Linked DNA regions of Homo sapiens: regions 1 and 2 are each linked to region 3. The links are contacts of gene promoters, found by promoter capture Hi-C in blood cells and fetal thymus (Javierre and others, 2016). All regions are on one chromosome and are shown on one strand. The core of a region is centred on a gene start or on the middle of the fragment in contact, and the rest is flanking DNA. Distances in the headings are between cores, read along the strand shown. Region 1 has its middle 26 kb from the start of GNS. Region 2 has its middle 3.8 kb from the start of TBC1D30. Region 3 holds the start of WIF1 (Wnt inhibitory factor 1).

Region 1 (2,700 bases), core at 59-2,558, 340 kb before region 3:
GGGCTAGCTAAGGTTAAGTTGAGTGGAAGGCTTTGCCTGCCTACTAGATCATGCTCTAGTGACTAATCATATCAAATGTGACCAAAAAAAACCTCCTCCCAAATCGTAATGATCATTTATATAAAGACAGTAGACAATTCTGGTTCCCAAATTTGTTTTGACCTATAGAAAAACTGCTGTTAAGGGGAGGGAGAGCATTAGAACAAATACCTAATGCATGTGGGGCTTAAAACCTAGGTGATGGGTTGATGGGTGCAGCAAACCACCATGGCACATGTATACCTGTAACAAACCTGCATACTCTGCACATGTATCCTGGAACTTAAAGTAAAATAAAGTAAAAAAAAAAAAACTGCTGTTGTGAATATTAGTTTTATGAATGTAGAATTATTGTAATTTATCTGTGTAAAGGAAATTTATTTTCTACCATATTTGAAAAATTGCTGAGGCTCTAAGATGAAATATTGTACCTCTAAGACAAAATGTTTTTAGGCTATTGGAAGACTGGATATTCAAAACAAAATCAGTATTGCCACATTCATCTACATTACAAAATGTGGTAAAATTATTTACTTTTAGCTCATCATTTGTAAACATAGATGAGTACTTTAAAGACTTTTTTTTTTTTTTTTTCTTTGAGACGGAGTTTCGCTCTTGTTGCCCAGGCTGGAGTGCAATGGCGCGATCTTGGCTCACTGCAGCCTCCTCCTCTCGGGTTCAAGCAATTCTGCCTCAGCTTCTGGAGTAGCTGGGATTACAGGCATGTGCCACCACTCCCAGTTAATTTTGTATTTTTAGTAGAGATGGGGTTTCTCCATGTTGGTCAGGCTGGTCTCCAACTCCTGACCTCAGGTAATCTGCCCTCCTTGGCCTCCCAAAGTGCTGGGATTACAGGTGTGAGCCACCACGCCTGGCCTTTAAAGACTTTTTTTTTTTTTTAATTAGCTGTTAGGTTTATTATTAATGTAACAGACTAAAAAAGATTCTTTTCTAGCAAGCTTACCATCTGAACACTTCAGTGGTACAAAATATACATGCCAGTTTTCAGGCAATGAAAAGTAAATTTGCAGCCAGAGCTAGATATGGTAAAAGTAGGAGTTTTTGCTCCATGTTACAGATAGGCTTAAGGATAAATTTACCTTACAGTATCTGTCTCATGGACAGGGCAGATAAATGAGTGACTTATTTGATCGGAATGTCCGAGCTGAATGCATACATGTAATCTTGAGTGAAAACCTAGAATTAGTTGGTTTAAATGGATGTTCTATTTATCTTTGGACTAATATCACACTGGAATTTGTATTCCTCTCAAGGTATTAATCGTTATTCTTATTTTTCTTTACTGATAGACGCTAATGAACTGAAGACGATCCTTCGAGAGCTAAAGTACAGAATTGGCATCCAGTCGGCCAAGTTACTTCGGCATCTGAAGCAGAAAGATAGGCTTCTGCATAAAGTGCAGAGGAACTGTGATATTGTGACTGCCTGCTTGCAGGCTGTGTCACAGAAGAGAAGTAAGTACTGGAATTGGGTTACTTCTTTTGCCACATGCAACTAGAATGTTAGGAAAGCTGAGCCAACAGTCTGTGTTTGTGAATATATTGAGAAGTTTTAAATGCAAGCTTATACCCTCAGAACTAAGAACAAGGAACAACTCAGACAGTTTCCTATTTTTCAGTTAAAATGTATACTTCATGTCTAATGTTACAACCTTAGATTTATTATTCTAGATTTGAAGTAGTACTTTACTTTGACAATAATTTTACCTAATGCTGAATGATGATTACAATTTTATTTTATTTATTTATTTATTTATTTGAAACAGAGTCTCACTCCGTCACCCAGGCTGGAGTGCAGTGGCGTAATCTTGGCTGAATACAACCTCCGCCTCCCAGGTTCAGGCAATTCTCCTGTCTAAGCCTCCTGAGTAGCTGGAACTACAGGCGCCCGCCACCAGGCCTGGCTAATTTTTGTATTTTTAGTAGAGACGAGGTTTCACCTTGCTGGTCAGGCTGGTCAGGCTGATCTCAAACTCCTGATCTCAGGTGATTCACCCTTCTTGGCCTCCCAAAGTGCTGGGATTACAGGCGTGAGCCCCTGCGCCTGGACAAATTTTTATTTTTAAAACAGCATCACTGGCTGGGTGTGGTGGCTCACACCTATAATCCCAGCACTTTTGGAGGCCGAGGCTGGTGGATCACCTGAGGTCAGGTGTTTGAGACCAGCCTGGCCAACATGGTGAAACCCCATCTCTACTAAAAATTAGCTGGTCGTGGTGGCTGGCACCTGTAGTCCCAGCTACTCAGGAGGTTGAGGCAGGAGAATCACTTGAACCTGGGAGGCAGAGGTTGCAGTGAACCGAGATCGCACCATTGCACTCCAGCCTGGGCGACAAGAGCGAAACTCCATCTCAAAAAAAAAATAAATAAATAAAAATAAAAATAAATAAATAAAACAGCATCACACAGACATAACCTAAAAGGCATGTCCTTTTTCTCTTATTCTGTGTTGCTACAGTAAGTGAATTAAATAATTGATTTAAAGAAATCGATTCTTGTAACAGGACCTTAACAACTTGCTCTGAAATCTGAAGATGGCAACATAGTTTAGCAAATGTAACCTATCTCTTGCATAATCATAACTAAGAGCTGTGTGGGAGCTGTGTGGTTTGTTAATCAATTAAAAATAAATTGTTAAATT
Region 2 (2,700 bases), core at 117-2,616, 300 kb before region 3:
GCCAGTGCAGTGGCATGATCTCGGCTCACTGCAAGCTCCGCCTCCCAGGTTCAAGCGATTCTCCTGCCTCAGCCTCCCAAGTAGCTGGGATTACAGGTGTGCGCCACCACACCCAGCTAATTTTTGTATTTTTAGTAGAGATGGGGTTTCACCATGTTGGCCAGGCTGGTCAGTCTCCCGAAGTGCTGAGATTATAGGCATGAGCCACTGCACTCGGCCTTGAAGGAACTACTTGTTAAGTCCCTACTTTAGTAGGTCTGAGGAAAGTGTTAACTTCTTGTAGAAAAGGCCACAGATCTTGTCTGGTTAGCAGACGCCACTTCACTATTCAGGAGCTGTTTACACATGTTCAAAAATTGTGGGATGAGGAGAGAGGAGGAAGAGTGGCTTTTATGCCACCAGACCTCCATTCTTTTTATTATCACAGGTGCAAAATGTCCCCATCTCCTGCCGAATGGGAGACAGCACTAGATCTGGTGGTCTGATGAGATCTCTGATGCTCAGCTTGTGTGCATATCAGCACCTGCCAGGGAACTCCGCAGCTGTACAGATGAGTTCCAGGCCCACTTCCCCAGAGCAGGCTGGCTCCCTGTGGTCTCTCTCTCCTCATAGCAGGCTTCCAGGGCCTTTTCTCTTGGTAATTGTCAGTCCCTGAAGATAAGCACGTAGGCCCTTTTTATTTTAAGACTTTACTGTTAAACAAAAAAAATAGCAGCATTAGGAAATCACAGGTCTCAGACCCACTTCCCCTTCTGGAAGCCCCTTGGGACATAGTTTTTATTCCTTGTGTTGGGCTTTCTTTTCTTACTGACTTCTTCCCCCTTCTCCCATTAAAGGAAAAGTTCGCTCTCAAGGAAACCTCATTCCCAGCATGTAGGCCTGAAGATGCAGGGTATGCCGAATGGTCCATACTTTTTTTTGTTTCAGCCTGGGAGCTCACATCTGTGGGGGATGTCCTCAGGTTATTAGCTCTGTGACATTCGGGGCATTTCCTCAAAGCCTTCATTTTCTTTAGCAATCCAAATAACATTATCTCATCCAATGTGAAGTGTTCATTAAGCCTTCCTTCCCCTAAATTCAGCATAAGTCATAACCATTGTAGACTGTGGCAGTGTATAATTTGCCCAAATGTGAATTCACTATTATTTGATTGGTAAAGCTTGATTAGTAAAGAATAATGGTAAATTGGCCTGGCTCCTGAGATTCTCAGGCAAAGTCCATGCTGGCTTGAGTTCTCTGTAAGTTGACTTTAGATGACATCTTTCACGTTTGTAAAACAATATTCCAGACATGAAATAAAAAACTGTGAGTCACACAATCAACATAATACTAGGCTTGGGCCATCGCTGCTTTTAGAGTATTGTGTTTTAGTGCTCATGTAATTATCTGTTTGCTATAAAAGTTGGCAGTCCTGACTTTCCTCTCCAATGTAAACAAAATAATATTATCTAATTCCTTTGCTGTTTATTGCCATCATAGCAGAAACTCTTAAATTTTATTTTAAAAACAGAGTTAGATTTTCCTCGTAATAGATCTAAAAGAGGTGAAATTGAATGTTCCTTTTGCAAGCAAACAAGCTTCTGTCACTACTAGTAAAGAAAAGTATTACAAGTAAAGAAGAATCTAAAGAGAGGTCTTTTTATCAGTCATGACACATGGGTGAGTTGACAGCCTAGAGTCTAGATGTCAGCTTTGGCAGTCTGGAAATTTGGTGTCTTCAGGTTACTGACTGGTAAGTGAACTCAGGGGTATTGACTGCTATTAACTGGTCAGTATATTCTCTGTGCTGCAGCAGAGTCTATATGGGAAATCAAATGACAATCCAAAGTTTGCTTGGTGAGCATGACGTCAGAGCCAAAGGGAGTTGGATGGTCTGAGTGGCATATGTCACAGCCCCAGGGGCAGGACGTCCTCCTCTCCACTCCAGAGACAGTGTTGTAGAACAGAGCTGATTGCTTGTCCTCTTGGCTTGCCTAGTGATGGAAACCGAGCATGAATAGCCTCTCTTGTTAAAATAGAACACAAAACCCTCTAAGATTTGAGCATATGAGAGGTCTGGAAGACGAGACTGTGCATGCAGTTACCAACTTGTCCTGCTGGATTTTCCCTCTCCTGCCAGTTCCCTCTCTTTGACTTCGGGTGTTCATCACCATCTTCAGCCCCAGGGTATACTGTGCCCTCTAAAAAACTGGTCAAAGGGAAGCATCAGACCTCTTCCTATGGCTCTCAGTACAACTGAGATAGGCTGCAACAGCCAATGAGTGTCTTATTAAAATTAATACAAAGCTGAAGGATACAAACATGTACCAAAACTGTAAAAAGTTGATGGTTGATGGAGGATAAATTTCTGTACCGGAGCTCGCAGCAAAAGGTTGGGAAATTTAAGCCAAGCAATTAGTCATGACCAGCTTAAACAGTGACTTCATTTTCTAAAGTGATGCCTTTTCAAAGAGTACTGCCCTTTTGAAAGCATCTTTACCTCTGCCAGGCAGCTACAACTGAATAGCTTGCATGTCCTTTATTAGCCTGCTTTACTTTTGCAGATGGCTCATCTCATTTTTAATAGATTCTTTTACAGCTCATTCTTAGGGTTGCACCATTTCTGACATTGTCCTCAAATTCTGGGAAGCGTCATAGGAATGCCTTCTTTTTCTGGCTTGTTTAGGCTATCTTTATGAAGGCATTTAAAAATATTCAATA
Region 3 (2,700 bases), core at 99-2,598:
CGTTCCAGTGAATAACATTCAACATACTGACTTTTTAAAAGTGCACAATGTCAAAAATACTTACAAACTTTAAAATTTGTTGTAAAGTATGAAGAATGTCACAAGTGATTAGAAACTACTATGCAAAAAGAGTCCTTTAAGTATGTTAAATTTTAATGTCAATGATCACAGAAACACAGTGATGTTGGTATTGGAGGTCTTTATATTTCCAGCAGCCTCAGGACACTGAGTCTTATCAAAATAATGGGCTTAGGCACAAGGCTTGTTCTTTTCTTTTGAAGATCATTAATTGATATGGCAACTTGAAATAAATGGAAATTAATTCTTTATTTGCTTTGGCAATCAGATGAGAAATTTCTCTTAATAACTGTAAAATGTACCAGGCTACACACTATACAGTACTATTTCCACCTGCCATAAGGCAGTGGAAATATTAAAGGGTAATTTTCTCAGAACTTACCTGCCCTGCAGCTTGCCAGGTAAAATTCATGGAATGGATATTGACAGGAATAGCTGGCATTCTCTGTTGTGCTTTTCTGAAATCATGTGTAAAAGGTGCCATTTTCCCCTCTGAAACAATCAGGATATCTTCTTCAAATCCTGGTTTTTAAAATAATAAAACGATCAAACCAGGTAGACTTGAAATCATCTAAATCAGAAGTTTCAAGCAAAAAGAAAACCAAAGAATTAGTGTGGGTCATTTCTGTTCACAAGCATCTGCCTTCAGTACCATCAACGCTACTAAGATTAATTTTTCTCTGTGGATGATGAGAATGATGCCAACAGACCCATGCTTTCAGGGAAAAGGGATGGACATGGAGTTAACCGACGCAAAAAAATGCCGGGTGCACCTAAAAACGCAGGGCTATAAAAATTAACAACAGCATGATCAGAACACTAGATCAGCTTTGGTTTCTTAAAAGAGAAGTTTATAAGCTTTCAGATGGAAAATATCTAATTAAAAGAGGGGAACACTCTTTTGTGGAAATTAAGTTTTAAAACACAAGAAACGCAGGTATCCCTCTTTCTTGAAGAGTGGAGAGAGGAGGACATAGGCAGGGGAAGGCGCTGGAGGCGGGGGCCTTACCTATGAGTACTCTTGCCTGGTGAGCATCGATCCATAGGTACAGGCTCTCCTCCTGCGGCGGCCCGGCCTCCGCCCGCAGTGCCAGCAGGCACAGGAGGATGCTCCAGAGCCAGAGCGCGGCGGCAGGGAAGGCGCTCCTCCGGGCCATGCTGCTCAGGACCTCCTCGCTGCCGGGAAAACTCCTCGTGCCGCACCTACGCAACCTGGCGCCGTCAGATACTCTGCTGCGCTGCAGCTCCCTCAGCCAGGGCTGTTCCCGTTTAGACGGCTGGGCGCGTCGCCTCCCGGCCTGGGTGCCAAGGAGCCTGCGAGAGCAGGAGGAGGGGGCAGGCAGGACGCGGGAGGAGGAGGGGGGGACCAGCGGGCGCGAGTCGCGCAAGAAGATGGGGCGCGGGCGGGAGTGGGGGCGGCAGAGACGTAAGACTGGCAAAGCTGGCGAGGCCAGCAGTCAGCGGGGCAAATAGAGCGAGAACAGAAGAGCGGGAAGGGCTGGCGCGAGCGAGGTGCGAGCGAGGAGTGGGGCCCGCGAGGCCTGGGCGGCCGCCACTTGGGGGCGCTGTGGGGCCCCCCCGGGGGCGGGGCCGCGAGGGACCCCCGAGGCTGCATTCACAGTGCGGTGCGCCCAGTGGAGCGCCCGCGAAGTGGGCGTGTAGGGCTGGCGGACCCGGAGAAGGGCACTCAGAGACCCCTGGGACATCACTCGCCACCTCCTCGGGCCAAGGGAGGCTTCGGGGGAGGGAAATGGGGAGAGCAGACAACGCTGGGCTTGACTGAGTGCTGATGATGGTGATGGTGATGGTGATGATGATGATGATGATGATGATGAGGTGATGACTCCTGTTCCTCCTCCGGCGCTCACTGAAGGCGCAAATTGCCCTTCGTCTCCCTTTCAGCCAGTAGGATTCCTCTCTCCGCCAACCCTATGCGCTCCGTTCTGCGATAGGCTGGCACTTTGCGCGCTCCCAAGCAGTTAAAACTCGAGGCTCGACTGTCCGATGGTGCCGATGGCAGGCGCTGGCCTTGGCTCGAGGCGCAGGGCGTCCAGCTGGTACTTGCCCGACACCCAGCATTTGGGGATTCCCGTCTGTCTCCCTGATAACCCGGCAGTGCCCGGAAGAGTGCCCTGGGCCCTGGACGATAGCTGTACCTGACCCTCCGGGGTAGGGCTCCTCTAACATCGTGGATATCTTCACGTTTGCTGATATTTTTTAAAAGTTGCTGAATTCGGCCGGGCGCGATGGCTCACGCCTGTAATCCCTGCACTTTGGGAGGCCAAGGCGGGCGGATCACCTGAGGTCAGGAGTTCGAGACCAGCTTGGCCAGCGTGGTGAAACCCCGTCTCTACTAAAAATGCAAAAATTAGCTGGGCATGGTGGCGGGGGCCTGTAGTCCTAGCTACCCGGGAGGCTGAGGCAGGAGAATCACTTGAACCGGGAGGCGGAGGTTGCATTAAGCCAAGATCGTGGCACTGCACTCCAGCCTGGGCGATAGAGCGAGACTCCGTCTCAAAAAATATATAAATAAATAAATAAAATAATTTTTTAAAAGTTGCCGAATTCACAGGTGCGTGGGGGCAAAACCAAGGCTCTGGCCTCGTCTGTGAGAAGCATGCT

The links. The method cuts DNA at HindIII sites, captures the fragments that hold promoters and counts their contacts. A CHiCAGO score of 5 or more calls a contact.
Region 1: a fragment that was not itself captured here is called in contact with the fragment with the promoter of WIF1 in region 3 in 1 of 17 cell types (endothelial precursors); the score reaches 5.3 in endothelial precursors.
Region 2: a fragment that was not itself captured here is called in contact with the fragment with the promoter of WIF1 in region 3 in 4 of 17 cell types (M1 macrophages, endothelial precursors, M2 macrophages and 1 more); the score reaches 6.5 in M1 macrophages.

What each region holds. Positions count from the first base shown.
Region 1 is chr12:64,784,532-64,787,231 of GRCh38, forward strand. It overlaps a transcript of TBC1D30 not described here. Among named protein-coding and RNA genes, the nearest start is that of GNS, 26 kb to the left of the region's middle. The HindIII fragment of the contact is 624 bases long and covers 997-1,620 here.
Region 2 is chr12:64,819,464-64,822,163 of GRCh38, forward strand. It overlaps a transcript of TBC1D30 not described here. Among named protein-coding and RNA genes, the nearest start is that of TBC1D30, 3.8 kb to the right of the region's middle. The HindIII fragment of the contact is 418 bases long and covers 1,158-1,575 here.
Region 3 is chr12:65,119,957-65,122,656 of GRCh38, forward strand. WIF1 (Wnt inhibitory factor 1) reads right to left here and starts at 1,349. Exons shown (of 10, transcript NM_007191.5): 1 at 1,088-1,349; 2 at 461-600. The coding sequence starts at 1,235. RefSeq lists a silencer at 1,510-1,669. The HindIII fragment of the contact is 2,494 bases long and covers 935-2,700 here.